Regions from separate parts of the Homo sapiens genome. Here all the other regions are linked to region 1. Evidence: promoter capture Hi-C in human tissues and cell types (Jung and others, 2019). All regions are on one chromosome and are shown on one strand. The core of a region is centred on a gene start or on the middle of the fragment in contact, and the rest is flanking DNA. Distances in the headings are between cores, read along the strand shown.

Region 1 (2,649 bases), core at 77-2,576:
TGCCATCCTAGAGCAATACGCCCCGAGTGACAGCCCTGACAACCGGAGTGATGGATCGGGACTGGAAAAGTGGTGCTGGGAGCCAGGCAGTGACACCAGCGCGCCTCCACTGGCCGCCGAGCGCACGGAGAAGTGGGCTCCCCAGAGTTCGGCACCCAAAGGACCAACTTCGCCTCCGGAAAAGCGGCGGATCCGGAACTTGGATGTCAGGACTATGACTACGTAAAATCTCTGCCCAGGGCGAAGCTAGCAATGCACACTGTATCAGAAAGGCGCAGGGAGTCGGGAAGGGTATTGTTATTTTTAATTAAAAGTTTTTATCCCGAAATTTGCCTGGGGAAAGCAAGTGCTTTTTCCCCCGGAGTGAGAAGGATGGGGGGGCGGAGGGGTTGTGTTGCCGAGCAGCGCTTAGAGAGAGATCCCCCTCCAGGGACACCCGCCTCGCCCGTGATCTCGGTCTCTCCTCGTAGCAGCTGGGCGCGGTACAGTGAGGAACTTCACGCCCCTCAGCAGGACACGGTAAGAAGCCTGTAACACACCAGACACCGAGCCTCTAACGCAGGGCGCAGGCACAGCGCGCACAGCCTGGGGTCCCGCGCTTGGTCGCCGACCATGTCACTCCAGAAGGGAGACAAACTTGCAGGCTTCAGACAAGACGGGCTCAAAGTAGTTGGAGCTGCCTACGCCGCGTCCCGAGAACAGTGGGTGCCTCCGAGGCTCGGGCGCTTCCAAGTGAACACACCAAGGGGAGGCCAAGTAGGGGAAGGAGAGCGGGGCCGAGGAGAGCCGGAGCAGCTCTGGAGAAGGACCCGGGCTCCCGAGGCGAGGCCTGCCCCCAGGCGGCCTCTGGGAGAGGCTTGAACTCCAGCGTCCCAGAGCCCGCGCCGTGCGATCCCTCCCACCCCACCCCACCCCACCCCACCCCACCTCGGACACACACGGCGGGCGGGGTTACAGCCCCCGCCAGCATCACCCCCCACCCACCCAGTGGTGAGAAGGGAGAGAGGAGAGAGAGCGGCCGGAAAGGAGGACGGGGCGCAGAGCTCAGGGTCCCGGAGAAGTCCCGTCCCAGGCGGGGGACCCCAGGGCGAGGAAGGCCCAGTCGGGGGGAGGGGAGGAATCCCGGGAGCGGCCGAGACCGAGGCAGCGGCGGCGCGCGGCGCGGCCCCTTTAAGGCTCTCCCCGCCCACCGATGGAGCCGGCCTCAGCCCGCCGCTCTCCCCGCCCCGGGGTCCCGGCGAGAGCTGCGATTGGGCGGGCGCGGCGATCCCTTTGAAGTGTGGCTGCCGATCGCGGCTATTTGACGTGCGGCTCGAGGAAGGCGAAGGTTTTTGTGTTGCTAGCCGGGGCCAGCGGCGGTGGCGGCGGCGGCGGAGGCGTCGGTGGAGGAGGGGAGGCGGCGAGGAGGCGCAGCTCCCGCTGCACCGCGATCGACGCTGCGGAGCGAGCCCACCCGCCCCGGGAGCTCGCCTCCCCGGTGCTCCCCCGCCCTCCCCGCCCCCCCAGCGGCGCTGCCTCCTCCAAATGAGCGATTCGCCCGCTGGATCTAACCCAAGGACACCCGAAAGCAGCGGCAGCGGCAGCGGCGGCGGCGGGAAGAGGCCGGCGGTGCCGGCAGCGGTGTCCCTCTTGCCACCGGCGGACCCCCTGCGCCAGGCGAACCGGCTCCCGATCAGGGTCCTGAAGATGCTGAGCGCTCACACCGGTCACCTCCTGCACCCGGAGTACCTGCAGCCGCTGTCCTCCACTCCCGTCAGCCCCATTGAGGTCAGTCCCCGGCCGCTGCCCCCGGGCGCCGGCCCCATTCCTCCCACCGCGACCGGGACCCTGACCCAGCTCCCAGCGCCCCGGGGCTCGGTGCGACACCCAAGTCTGGTCACGCTGGCGGGCTGAGTGAGGAGGGGAAGAAAACCGAGGGATCAGAGCCCACCAGGGCTTCCCCAGGCTTCCCCGTGGAAGGGTCTCCTTCCACGCTCGCCCTTCGGAGCTCCGTGTTTTCTCTCGGATTGGATTTGCTCCTGGAGTCCCCTCTGGGTCCTTTACTTTTCCTCTGATCCCCAGTTTCCAGCCAGGAGTTGGTCTCTGCTGGGTCTTCCCCGCCCCCCACGCCGGGCTGTTTTCTTTGAAGCCCTGGCTGCCCGGGTCCCACTTCGCCTCTGTCCCATCCGGTGAGGGCGCACGGCGCCCTGGCGCTCCCGATCCCGGATCTTTCTTCCTGCCTCTTCCCTGGGTGCCCTCCCCGGGAGGGAGGGGCTACGGAGAGAGCGCCAACTGCAGCCCCTCCTTTAGAATCCGCGCTCCCCTCTCCTACCCCGCGGCGCCATCGCCAGAAACCCGTCCCAAGCGAAGTTCCCCCAAACTAAAGGAATAAGTTTTTTCCTGGGCCTGGAGGAGGGGGACATTAGAGGGAAGTGGCGAGTCACAGCCCCGACTCCAGAGACGTCACCTTCTCCCGCAGGGGTCCTGGGTGAACTCCTTCCGCAGGGCCTGCGGCGCACCCCGGGACCCAGCGGCAGTGTGGGCGCAGTTCCGCCAGCTGCCGCGCCCGGCCCGGCCCTCGCTCGCAGACCCTCTCCCCAGGCCCGCCCCGCCCCGTGGCGCCGCCGCCCAGCTCCCCGGGCGCCCCCGCTCGCCCCGCAGGCCTCTGAG
Region 2 (2,649 bases), core at 99-2,598, 860 kb before region 1:
TGGCGTGATCTAGGCTCACTGCAACTTCCACCTCCCCGGTGCAAGCAGTTCTGCCTCAGCCTTCCAAGTAGCTGGGATTACAGGCATGTGCCACCACGCCAGACTAATTTTTTATTTTTAGTAGAGATGGGGTTTTACCATGTTGGTCAGGCTGGTCTTGAACTCCTGAGCTCAGATGATCTGTCCACCTTAGCCTCCCAAAGTGCTGGGATTACAGGCTGGGCCACTGCGCCTGGCCTGACCATCGGCAAGTATTTTCAAGATGGCTAGAGTCAGTGTTATTACATTAAACTGTGAACTCTTCTAGCAAGAACGTGACTTGTGATAACTGTGATTATGATGACAATGGCATTTTGGCTAATCCAGATGAACTTCCAATCTCCAGAGTAAAATAAACACAGATAGCTGAAGGTGACATTACATATAGCAAGAAACAGCTGAAAATCTGTACCATACATAGTACAGTAAATATGACGTAGATCTTAGTTTCTTAATTTGTAAAATGGGGAAGTTGAATTAGACAGTCTATGAGCTATTTCAAGCCATAGACTACCATCAAATTTCTATTTTTACCTGTAATTATTAGGTTTGGGTTTGAAAGCTAAAACATGAAACTGTTGATTTCCTCCTCAAGAATTGGTCTCAGAAGAACACAGTCTTCTAACACCAAGAGATAATCATTCCATAGATTTGGTTGGCAAAGTCATGAAAACAATGATGCTCTTCTGTGTAGGCTACTAAAAACATTTTTAGAAAACAACACAACAATAAACTTTATTATATGCCAAGTTTTTCTACACTTACCTACATATCAATTTAACTCTGAATTAAATTATATTACAAAGCCCTTTGGCTATGACACATGACTAATGAGAGTGTTTGGGGTTTATATAGGGTGCTCTCTATCAAGAACTATGATTCTACCACCAGAATCATCATACAGATACTGCAATCCCATAACAAGGTATAGTAACATTCTAGCATATTCCATCTCCTCCTTTTATCTATATAGCTAGACGAACTTTTTAATTTTCTAATGGATGTGTAAATAAAAAGTTTTTGCTAATCATAGGTAAAATTTGGAGTCTTATTAAGATGGATAATCACTTAACAATGTAAATTGGGGGCAGAATTAGAAGTTTAAGTCATTTGACCTGATTTTGCAACTCTAGCTATTTTTGTTTCAAAAAATGAGAGCCATTGACCACTAACCACTTTCAAATGCTGAATTTGTTCTTATCATTTTCATTGACCTGGGCACCACTTTTGTGTGCAAAAATGAAGAATATATGATTTCAAGTAAATTTAAAAAAAGAAAGACATCCATCCTCAAGAGCTTTCTTGAGGTGTGTTTATTCCTAATGTTTGACCTGCTTTGTGCTATGGAACAGGTTTATCTGCCAAAGATTCCCAGCTGGAACTGGGACACCGGAGACAACATCATCTGCTTTGCTGAATTAAAACTTGGATTTATCGCCCAAGGCTGTTTGGTGCCAGGCTTGTGTACCTTCCTAACATCTCTATTTGTGGAGCAAAACAAAAAGGTAACCTTGTAAATTACTGTTGATTCTTGGCTCTGTTCCTATGTCCTACATATTAAGATCAGAAATAGGAAAAAAATTTGAGAAAAGCATCAAGGCCCCAAGCAATGAGATATGACTTCTGCTTGAGCTGGGAAGGGATTAGAAGATCTGAATTTAAAAGTCCCAGGTACCACACTGACCTTGAAGAAATCATTTATTTTATTCCTGCCTAAGAATATTTATCTACAAAACAGAAAAAATATAACTCTGCTTCCTACCTACAGTCCAGGATGTTTTAAATCAAAGTACATTCATCAAAGTAGAAGCATTGAGTTATCGAAAGTGAAAATATAAATAAAGGTTATATTATTAATGAAGGATTCATATATTTCAATATAAATTAAATCCAAAATAATAATTGGTATAATAATTATATTCATCAAATAGAAATGATACAAATAGTAATTAAAATCTAATTTTTCCAGGTTGTTTAAGGGAGCATTCCATGCAGGAATAATAACAGTAACCACATGATGAGTGCCTACTGTCTTGTGTTTCCCCTCAATAATATGTTGTTAGTATCCCAGCAGTGAATTGGTGAAGCTAACTAACTTGATCATGCAGTAAGTTAGTGAGCCGCAGAGCTAGAACTGTCTGGTCCACAGTGTTGTTACCACAATGCTGTATGCCTCTGGTGTTATTTCCACACAATGTCTCACATCAAGATTTTTGATATTTTTGTCTGAGACAAAGTAAGGGGCTAAAAGTGACTCTTGGGATAAATTTTTGTAGCACAAAAGGTGGTCTTCCAAATATCATTTCCATGAAATGCTCCAGGCAAGGTGTGCTAGCCCTTGGCTGGACCTGGTCTTCCTTTTCTAAAGTGCTTGCAGAGAATGACCTTACTTTCCATTTAATTCTGAGTCCATGCTTGCCTTTCATACACGTGACTTCCCTCTTGACCTCTCTTTGCTCGCTCTTTCCTCTGTTCTCTTTTTTCTGTGTTCAGTACAAATATTTGCATCTTTTTCTGTTTCTTCCCTGGTGCTATTTAACGAAAAGCAAAAGAAGTAAGAGGTGCTCTGGCCAGCTATATCCTAACTGCAACAAACGGAATGCTTCTGTA
Region 3 (2,649 bases), core at 51-2,550, 800 kb before region 1:
GATTCCTCTTTGCCCTTGGCTCTGAACAATTTGATTATGGTATATCCAGGTCTGAATCTCTTTGAGATTACTCTACTTTAAACTTCCTTTAGCTGCTTAGATATGTAAGTTAATGTTTTCATTAAATATGTAAAATTTGTGTCCATTATCTAAGTACTCTTTCTTCTTTCTCTCTCTCCCCCATTTCTGAAACTCCCATTTTGTGTATGTTGATACACTTGATGATGTCCCACAGTTTTCTGAAGCTTCTGTGTATATTTCTTCAATAGGTTTTTATTTCTATTTTTCTGACTGCATTATCTCCATTGACTTATATTCAAGCTCATTTATTCCTTCTTCTGCCAACTCAGATCTGCTGCTGAGCTCCTTCACTAAAATTTTCTTTTCAGTTATTGTACTTCTTAACTCCAGAATTTCCATTTGTTTTTTTCTTATAATCTATCTCCTCACTGATATTTTGTATTCAGTGCTATATTGTTCTCATACTTTTCTTTAGTTCTTTAAAAATGGTTTCAGTTAGTCCTTTAAATATATTTATAATGGCTCTTATAAAATCTTTGCCTAGAAAGTCTGGGCTTCCTTCCGGACAGTTTCTATTGGTGTTCCCACCCCCCACCCCCCACCAGGTATGGTCCATACTTACTGTGTCTTTGTGTCTCATAATTTTTTGTTGAAAGCCAGGCATTTTAAATAATATTATATGACAACTCTACAAACTATTTTGCTATGGTTTATTGTATATTGACACTTAAATCTCTACTCAGCTTTATGATCAGCTAATGATTGCACTGAGATTTCCTTAAATGCCTTGAACTGATAAGTCTTCTTATATTTGCCAAGGGATTCTGTGTGCATGTTGAGGTAATTCCTTTGACACTTTAGCAGTTTACATCTTTGCCTAAGCCTTCATTTTTGGTTTGTGCAGTCTCAAGATCAGCCAGAAGAGATTAGGAATACCTCAGGTTTTTTTTCCCCTGGGTGTATTTACAACTCTGCACATGCACATGGTTTTATTTTTATTCAGTTTCCTACAGTGAATGTTTCAAAACCTTTTAATACCCTCTATAGAAGTCTGTTATTTTCTTTTGTTTTATTTGAGACAGAGTCTTGCTTTGTCACCCAGGACAGCATGCAGTGGCATGATCTCAGCTCACTGCAACATCTGCCTCCTGGGATCAAGCAATTCTCCTGACTCAGCCTCTCAAGTAGCTGTTATTACAGGTGTGAGCCACCATGCCTAGCTACTTTTTGTTTTTTTTTGTTTTTTTTTTGTAAAGATGAGGTTTCGCCATGTTGCCCAGGTTAGTCTTGAACTCCTGGCCTCTGGTGATCCACCTGCTTCAGCCTCCCAAAGTGCTGGGATTACAGGCATGAGCCACCACATCTGGCCCTCTCTATAGACTTCTAATTCTCCAGCTTTTTCTTTTGAAGATTTTTATGGGTCTTTTTTTTTTTTGCGACATTGTTAACTATAACTCAGATATTTGCAATTTAAAAAAATTACTGCTGATTATTTTTTTAAAATGCCTCCGGAAAAATTCCACTGAGAAAACTCCCAGGCCAAATAAAGATAAGCCCTGTGAGTGTGCACTTCCAGGGAGCTGCTAGAAAGCTCAAATAGTAACATATTCTGTGAATAAGGATATTTAACAGCTTCAGATCTATTTTTTCTCTCTGGTGGCTGCTAGACTGCTGGTTTTCAGAGCTACTGTTATTGTAAGGCTTCTGATCTTGATGGCTACTGTTGAACTAAAGATAGTGGAATGGGAATAGCACTTCTCAAAAATGCCATGAAGCTTATTGTTCTTACCAAGATCTCACCATTTTTCTTAAACAAATACTCCTCATATTGTTTCAAGTCTCCAGTTTATTTCCAGAACTCTGAAGATGTTGATTTTGATAATTTTTTTGTCAATATTCTCATTGCTTGTGTAGAATAGTGAATATTCAAAGGCCCTAACTCTGCCATTCTGGAAGAATGTCCCTTGTAGTTACTTTTTATAGTTATTTTTCATCTTCCTATTAAACTTGTAATGGTCCCTTAACCTGGTTTAAGACCATCTCTTTGCAGCAACGCCTTCCTTCATCTCTAACTTGACACTTTTAATCTGCAAGCCAAAAATCCAAAAATGTTAGAAATATAGATAATTCATGAAAAAATTTTCGATTAACAAATGCCACTGAGTATTTGTGATATCTTTGGTCTATGCAAATGCTATTTTAAAATGATGTCAGGCTGCTTTCTAGATTAGAAGTCAAAATCCACTTCACTACCTGTTTTTATATGGTTTGCCATACAAAAGCATTGTGCTTAATTTCAATGAAAGTATACTGTGGTAAAAGACTACAATATATGTTGATATTATCAAACTTGGCACTTATCACAATATTCTCAATTCATGGTAAAGCCATGGTTAGAAAAATTATAAAATTTTAAAAGAACATCTTAGCACAGCAGAATTTGTAATCAAAGTTTGTTTCTGAGTGACTCACTTGTTAGCCAAGCAAGAGAAGTCATTTACTAATGGTGAATCAATTAAATTGTGTTTGATTGCAGCAGATGAAAAAATGTATCCAGACAAAATAAAACTACCTAGTACTATTAACCTTTCAGCAAAAATCACTGCTGGAAGAATTGAAGACATCAGA
Region 4 (2,649 bases), core at 69-2,568, 630 kb before region 1:
ATATGATGCCATCCTTCCAGCTTGAGTGACACAGCAAGAATGTGTGATTGAGCAGAGAGTCCAGTGTCACCACGTCCTAGAGATGAGATCTCTAGCAAGTCACTTTGATATCTATTTATATCCATTCCTTAGCATCTGTGTGCTTTGTACCAATATAATGCCATCCTATTTTCTGTCAATTTACAGAATTGATGCTTTACTGAAAGGTTCAGGGAGTATTCAGACAGTGCAAAAATGTTTTTGAATTTACACACAATATAGATTTAGGCTTAGATTATTCCAAATAGGTCTTTCACCCAACTGTATGTCCAGTGAAACATTTGAAAATTACATGTGAAATGGGATAACTTTTTGATGTATGGAACTGACCAGTGTATTGCAAGACGTCTGCTCCCCTTGGCCCCACCTACTAAATGCCAATTACAATGATGGGTGAAATCCCACCTCCCCTAGGAGTGGCAGCTCTTCTCCATCTTGTCCCACATTGAGAACCACTGCTTTATCAGCTTTCTTGTGCTTCAGTTCTCACCCTTCTGTCTGAGCTCACCTTCTTTCCCCAGTATCCAGGATCTCTCTCTCTCCTTTTTTCTTTTTTATTCTCTATCTCTTATAATTCGGCATTTCAACATAACAAAACTTATATTTCTCTCTTAACTTCTTTATGCTAGCCTGGCACACTTGGTCCTCTGAATTATTTTGCTTCCAACTCAGCCTGGGTTGAATCCTGAAGGAGTCAGCAAGGCTTAGAAAAATTTCTTGGAACCAGAAACTCATGTGGAAGTCATTTAGTTTAACCCTCCTTTTCTACATGATCAAACTGAAGCTTAAATATGTGCAGTGACTTGCCTGGGGTCCCACAACAAGTAAGTGGTAGTTTCAAAACAGGAACCTGAGTGTCTTCCACTATCCTTATACCTAGCTCTCTCTTGCTCAATAAGCCAATAAACCAAGCAACAAACCCTTATTAATGTCAAATGTAAGGCACTTTGTTAGGAATGCCTTACACTTCCTGAATTTAAGTACAATTGGAAAGATAAGAAATGGCAATAAAACAATGATTCCATTTAACAAAGTGTATGTCTTGTATTCCAGTTTTGCACAAGACTTTGTGCTACATGTTTCAGGAGATACAATGAACGGCAGCAGCTTCAGCCTACTCTTCCTCTAGAGCACATGGTCTGGTAATGAGATAAGACCTTATTATAATGCAAGGTAGAACCAAACACAGCCGACACTTGAGCAACATGAGTTTGAACTGTGCAAGTTCACTTATACAGAGATTTCTTTCTACCTCTGCCCTGCCCCCAGATGACAAGACCAACCCCTCCGCTTCATCCTCTTCCTCAGCCTACTCAATGTGAAGACTATGAGGATTTTTGTGTATGGTGTGAGATAGGGGTTCAGTTTCATTCTTTTGTATATTGGTATCTAGTTTTCTTAACAACATTTGTTGAAGAGACTATCCTCTCCCCATTATGTATTTTTTGGCATCTTTGGATGCATGGGTTTATTTCTGGGTTGTCTATTCTGTTCCAATGGTATATACATCTGTCTTTATGCAAGTACTGTACTTTTTATTATGTCTTTGTAATATAATTTGAAGTCAGGAAGTGTGATGCCTTCAGCTTTGTTCTTCTTTTTCAAGATTGGTTATTCAGGGTCCTTTTGATTCCATAGGAATTTAAGAATATTTTTTCTATTTCTTAAAAAGTGCCTTTGGGATTTTGATAGAGATTGTGTTGAATATGTAGATCATTTTGGGTAGTATGGACATTTTTACAATATTAATTCCTCCAATCCAGGTACATAGGATTTGTATCTTCTCATTTATTTGTATCTTTTTAAATTTCCTTCATGAATGCTTTGTAAGCTTCAGTATATAAGTCCTTTACTTCTTTGGTTAAGTTAATTTCTAAGTATTTTATTTATTTATTTATTTTGTTGCTAATGTAAATGGGACTGTTTTCCTGTGGAGAAAAGAGAACCCTTATACACTGCTGATGAGAATGTAAATTAGTAAAACCATTATGGAAAATGGTATGAAGGTTCTCCAAAAACTTAAAAATAGAACTAACATGATCCAGCAATCCTAGTTCTTGGTATCTAAAGCAATCGAAATCAGGATTGTGAAGAGTTCTCTGCACTATCATGTTCATTACAGGATTATTCACAAAGCTAAGCTATGGAAATGGCCTAAATGTTTTTCAACAGATGAATGGATAAAGAAAATGTGGTGTGTGTGTGTGGGTGTGTGTGTGCGCGCGCGCATGTGTGTGTATAACAGAATACTATTAAAAAAGAAGGAAATCCTGCTGTTAGCCACAACATGATGAAGCTGGAAGACATTATGCTAGGTGAAACAAACAAGACACAGAAACAGAAATCCTGCATGATCTCATTTATATGTGAAATTGAAAATAGTCAAATTTATAGAAGCAGATAGTAGGATAGTGGTTTCCAGGGCCTGGTCAAGGAAGAAATAGGGTGATACTGGCCAAAAGATACAAAGATTCAGTTATGAAATATGAATAATTTCTAGAGACCTTATGTACAGCATGGTCATGTTAATTAACAAAACTGTATTGTATACTAGTAATTTGCTGAGAGGACACATCTTAAATCTTCTCACTACACACACACACACACACA
Region 5 (2,649 bases), core at 95-2,594, 580 kb before region 1:
CTTAGCCCCTTTTCATGTTATATGAAATGCATTTATAGCACCGGATTTAAATTACATGAGATCAAGGAAAATAGTATACATCATCTAAGGACGTTCCATCCTCTTCTGAAAAAAGGGGTAGTATGTTTTTGGTTGTACCATGTTAGGTGGAAATATGACCTTAGTATTGTTTTCATTCAGGTATTAAGTATAGTTTATGGGTGCTATTATGGACTGAATGTGTGTTCTCCTCCAAAATGTACATGTTGAAGCCCTAACTCCCAATGTAATGGCATTTGGAGGTGCAGCCTTTGTGAGTTGTGTCTTGGATGTTGAATCCCTTCATAGTGCATTTGGATTGCTATAACAAGATACCATAAATTGGGTAGCTTATAAACAACAGAAATTTATTTCCCACAGTACTGGAGGCTGGGAAGTCCAAGATCAAGGTGCAGGTAGATTTGGTGACTGGTAAGGGTCCTCTTCCTGGTGTATCAATGGACAGCCATCTTCTCACTGTGTCCTTACATGAGGGAAAGGATGAGAGATCTCTCCAGGATCTCTTTTATAGGGGCACTAATCTGATTCATGAGGGCTTCACCCTCACAGCCTAATCACCTCGCCAAAGACCCATCTCTTAGTATCATTACCTTGGGGGCTGGAAATTCATTATATAAATTTAGGAGGGATATAAATATTCAGTCCAGTGCCACCCCTCAGAATGGAATTAGTTTCCTTATCTGAAGAAGAGGAAATACCAGAGCTCTTTCTTTCTCTCTCTTTCATATGAAGACATTGTGAAAATGTGGCAATCTGCAAGCCAGGAAGAATACCTTCACCAAAAACTGAATCTACCAGCACCTTGTTCTTGCACTTCCCAGTCTTTAGAATTGTAAGAAACAAATGTCTGTTGTTTAAGCCACCCAATCTATGGTATTCTGAGCTGACTAGACAGGTGCTAAGTTGATAAGAGGTGATCTTATGATGATTGATAAATTTTGTATGTCAGTTTGGAGGGTGTTTTTGGATAAGATTAACACTTAAATCAGTGAACTTTGAATAAGCAGAATACTCTCCTTAATGTACATGGGCCTCATCTAATCAGTTGAAAGTCTAAATGGAATAAAAAGACCAGCCTCCTCAGTCAATAGAAACCTTCCCACCAGACTTCCTTTGGACTAGAACTGCACCATTGGCTCTCCCTGGATCTTAAGACTACCAGTTCACACTGCAGATTTTGTACTAACCAGCCTTCATAATGAGCAAGAGAACTCATTCTAATACATCTGTTTCCTTGTATATGTATGTGCCATTGGTTCTGTTTCTCTGAAAAATTCTGAATAATGCTAAAACATATTAAGACTAATCAAAAGAAAGTTGGAGTAGCTATATTAATTTCAGACAAAGCAGACTGCATAACAAGGAAAGTTATTGGGAATAAAGGGGAATGTTTTATAATGTTACAGAAGTCAATTTTCCAAAAAGATTTAACAATCCTACATGTTATACTATCTAGCATTTAGATATACCTGTACCTAACAGCAGAGTCAAAATACATGAGAGAAAAAGAAATAATATAATTGAAAGGAGAAATGGGGAAAATCCACTATTATAGTTGGAGACTTCAACATTCCCATTTCAGTAATTGATAGATCAAACAGACAGAAAATCAGTAAGAATATAGTTGGCCTAAACAGTACTATCAATCAACTTGATCTAATTGGCATTTATGGAATGTTCCATCCAACAAGAGCAGAATATACATTCTTCTCAAGTTTACATGGAACATTCGCAACCCCACTCCCTGCTACAAAAAAAAAAAAAAAAAAAAAAAAACAAAACTCATTCTGGGCCATAAAACACACCTTAACAAATTTATAGGAAGATAATACTATAAAAGTTGGCTCCCACACCAAGTGGAATTGAAGTAAAAATCAATAACAAAAAGATAATTGGAAAATCCCCAAATATTTGGAAATTAAACAACATACTTTTAAATAACATGTGTGCCAAAGAAAAAAAAACTTTGAAATTTTAAAATATTATCAGTTAAATTAAAATAAATGTGCAATTTATCAAAATTTATGGGATGCAGCAAAAGCAGTGGATAGGAGGAAATTATTAGCATTAAGTGCAGATATTAGTAAAGAAGAAATATCTAAAATTAATCATCTAAGCTTCTACCTTAGAAAACTAGAGAAAGAAAAGCAATTTAAGCCTGAAGTAAAAGGAAGAAAAGAAATAATAAAATTAGAGCAGATTAATAAAATTGAAAACAGAAAAACGAGAGAGAAAAAAATCCTCCCCAAAATCCAAAGCTGATTCATTCAAAAAAATTAATAAAAGTGATGAACTTATAGCCAGGCTAATCAAGAACAAAGGAGAGATGACATTTATTATCAATGTGAGAAATGAAAGAGGGATAATCACTACTGAGCCCAAAGACATGAGAAAAACAATAAAGGAATACTATTAACATTTCTATGCCTACAGATTTGATAACTTAGATAAATGGGACAAATTTCTTGAAAGACATAAACTACCAAAACTCACACGAGCATAAATAGATAGTCAGCAAAGGTCTATATCTATTGAAGAAATTGAATCATAATTAATAAACGTACAAAAAAGAAAGACTCATGTCCTGACAATTACACTAGTGAATTTTAC

Evidence for each region. The method cuts DNA at HindIII sites, captures the fragments that hold promoters and counts their contacts. A contact is called where the count stands out against the background at its distance.
Region 2: a contact is called between a fragment that was not itself captured here and the fragment with the promoter of ZNF703 in region 1, in 2 of the 25 tissues and cell types used here (IMR-90 fibroblasts and lymphoblastoid cells).
Region 3: a contact is called between a fragment that was not itself captured here and the fragment with the promoter of ZNF703 in region 1, in 4 of the 25 tissues and cell types used here (IMR-90 fibroblasts, hippocampus, lymphoblastoid cells and 1 more).
Region 4: a fragment that was not itself captured here is called in contact with the fragment with the promoter of ZNF703 in region 1 in 1 of the 25 tissues and cell types used here (bladder).
Region 5: a contact is called between a fragment that was not itself captured here and the fragment with the promoter of ZNF703 in region 1, in 3 of the 25 tissues and cell types used here (neural progenitor cells, small bowel and thymus).

Annotation. Positions count from the first base shown.
Region 1 is chr8:37,694,456-37,697,104 of GRCh38, forward strand. ZNF703 (zinc finger protein 703) reads left to right here and starts at 1,327. Exons shown (of 2, transcript NM_025069.3): 1 at 1,327-1,767. The coding sequence starts at 1,525. LOC124901932 (a long non-coding RNA gene) reads left to right here. Exons shown (of 2, transcript XR_007060887.1): 2 at 1-328. It overlaps LOC124901933 (a long non-coding RNA gene), which reads right to left and starts at 1,226. Exons shown (of 2, transcript XR_007060888.1): 1 at 985-1,226; 2 at 290-528. RefSeq lists silencers at 1-150, 938-1,287, 1,338-1,437 and enhancers at 1,172-1,715, 1,716-2,258. The HindIII fragment of the contact is 17,905 bases long and covers 1-2,649 here.
Region 2 is chr8:36,835,402-36,838,050 of GRCh38, forward strand. It overlaps KCNU1 (potassium calcium-activated channel subfamily U member 1), which reads left to right. Exons shown (of 27, transcript NM_001031836.3): 13 at 895-964; 14 at 1,392-1,544. Among named protein-coding and RNA genes, the nearest start is that of KCNU1, 52 kb to the left of the region's middle. The HindIII fragment of the contact is 5,758 bases long and covers 1-2,649 here.
Region 3 is chr8:36,891,884-36,894,532 of GRCh38, forward strand. All of the region lies in intron 19 of KCNU1 (potassium calcium-activated channel subfamily U member 1), which reads left to right. The region is part of intron 2 of LOC105379375 (a long non-coding RNA gene); the gene reads right to left. Among named protein-coding and RNA genes, the nearest start is that of KCNU1, 110 kb to the left of the region's middle. The HindIII fragment of the contact is 6,473 bases long and covers 1-2,649 here.
Region 4 is chr8:37,063,416-37,066,064 of GRCh38, forward strand. It overlaps LOC105379377 (a long non-coding RNA gene), which reads right to left. Exons shown (of 7, transcript XR_949675.4): 7 at 2,384-2,649. Among named protein-coding and RNA genes, the nearest start is that of KCNU1, 280 kb to the left of the region's middle. The HindIII fragment of the contact is 4,005 bases long and covers 1-2,649 here.
Region 5 is chr8:37,118,386-37,121,034 of GRCh38, forward strand. No RefSeq gene overlaps it. Among named protein-coding and RNA genes, the nearest start is that of KCNU1, 340 kb to the left of the region's middle. The HindIII fragment of the contact is 8,813 bases long and covers 1-2,649 here.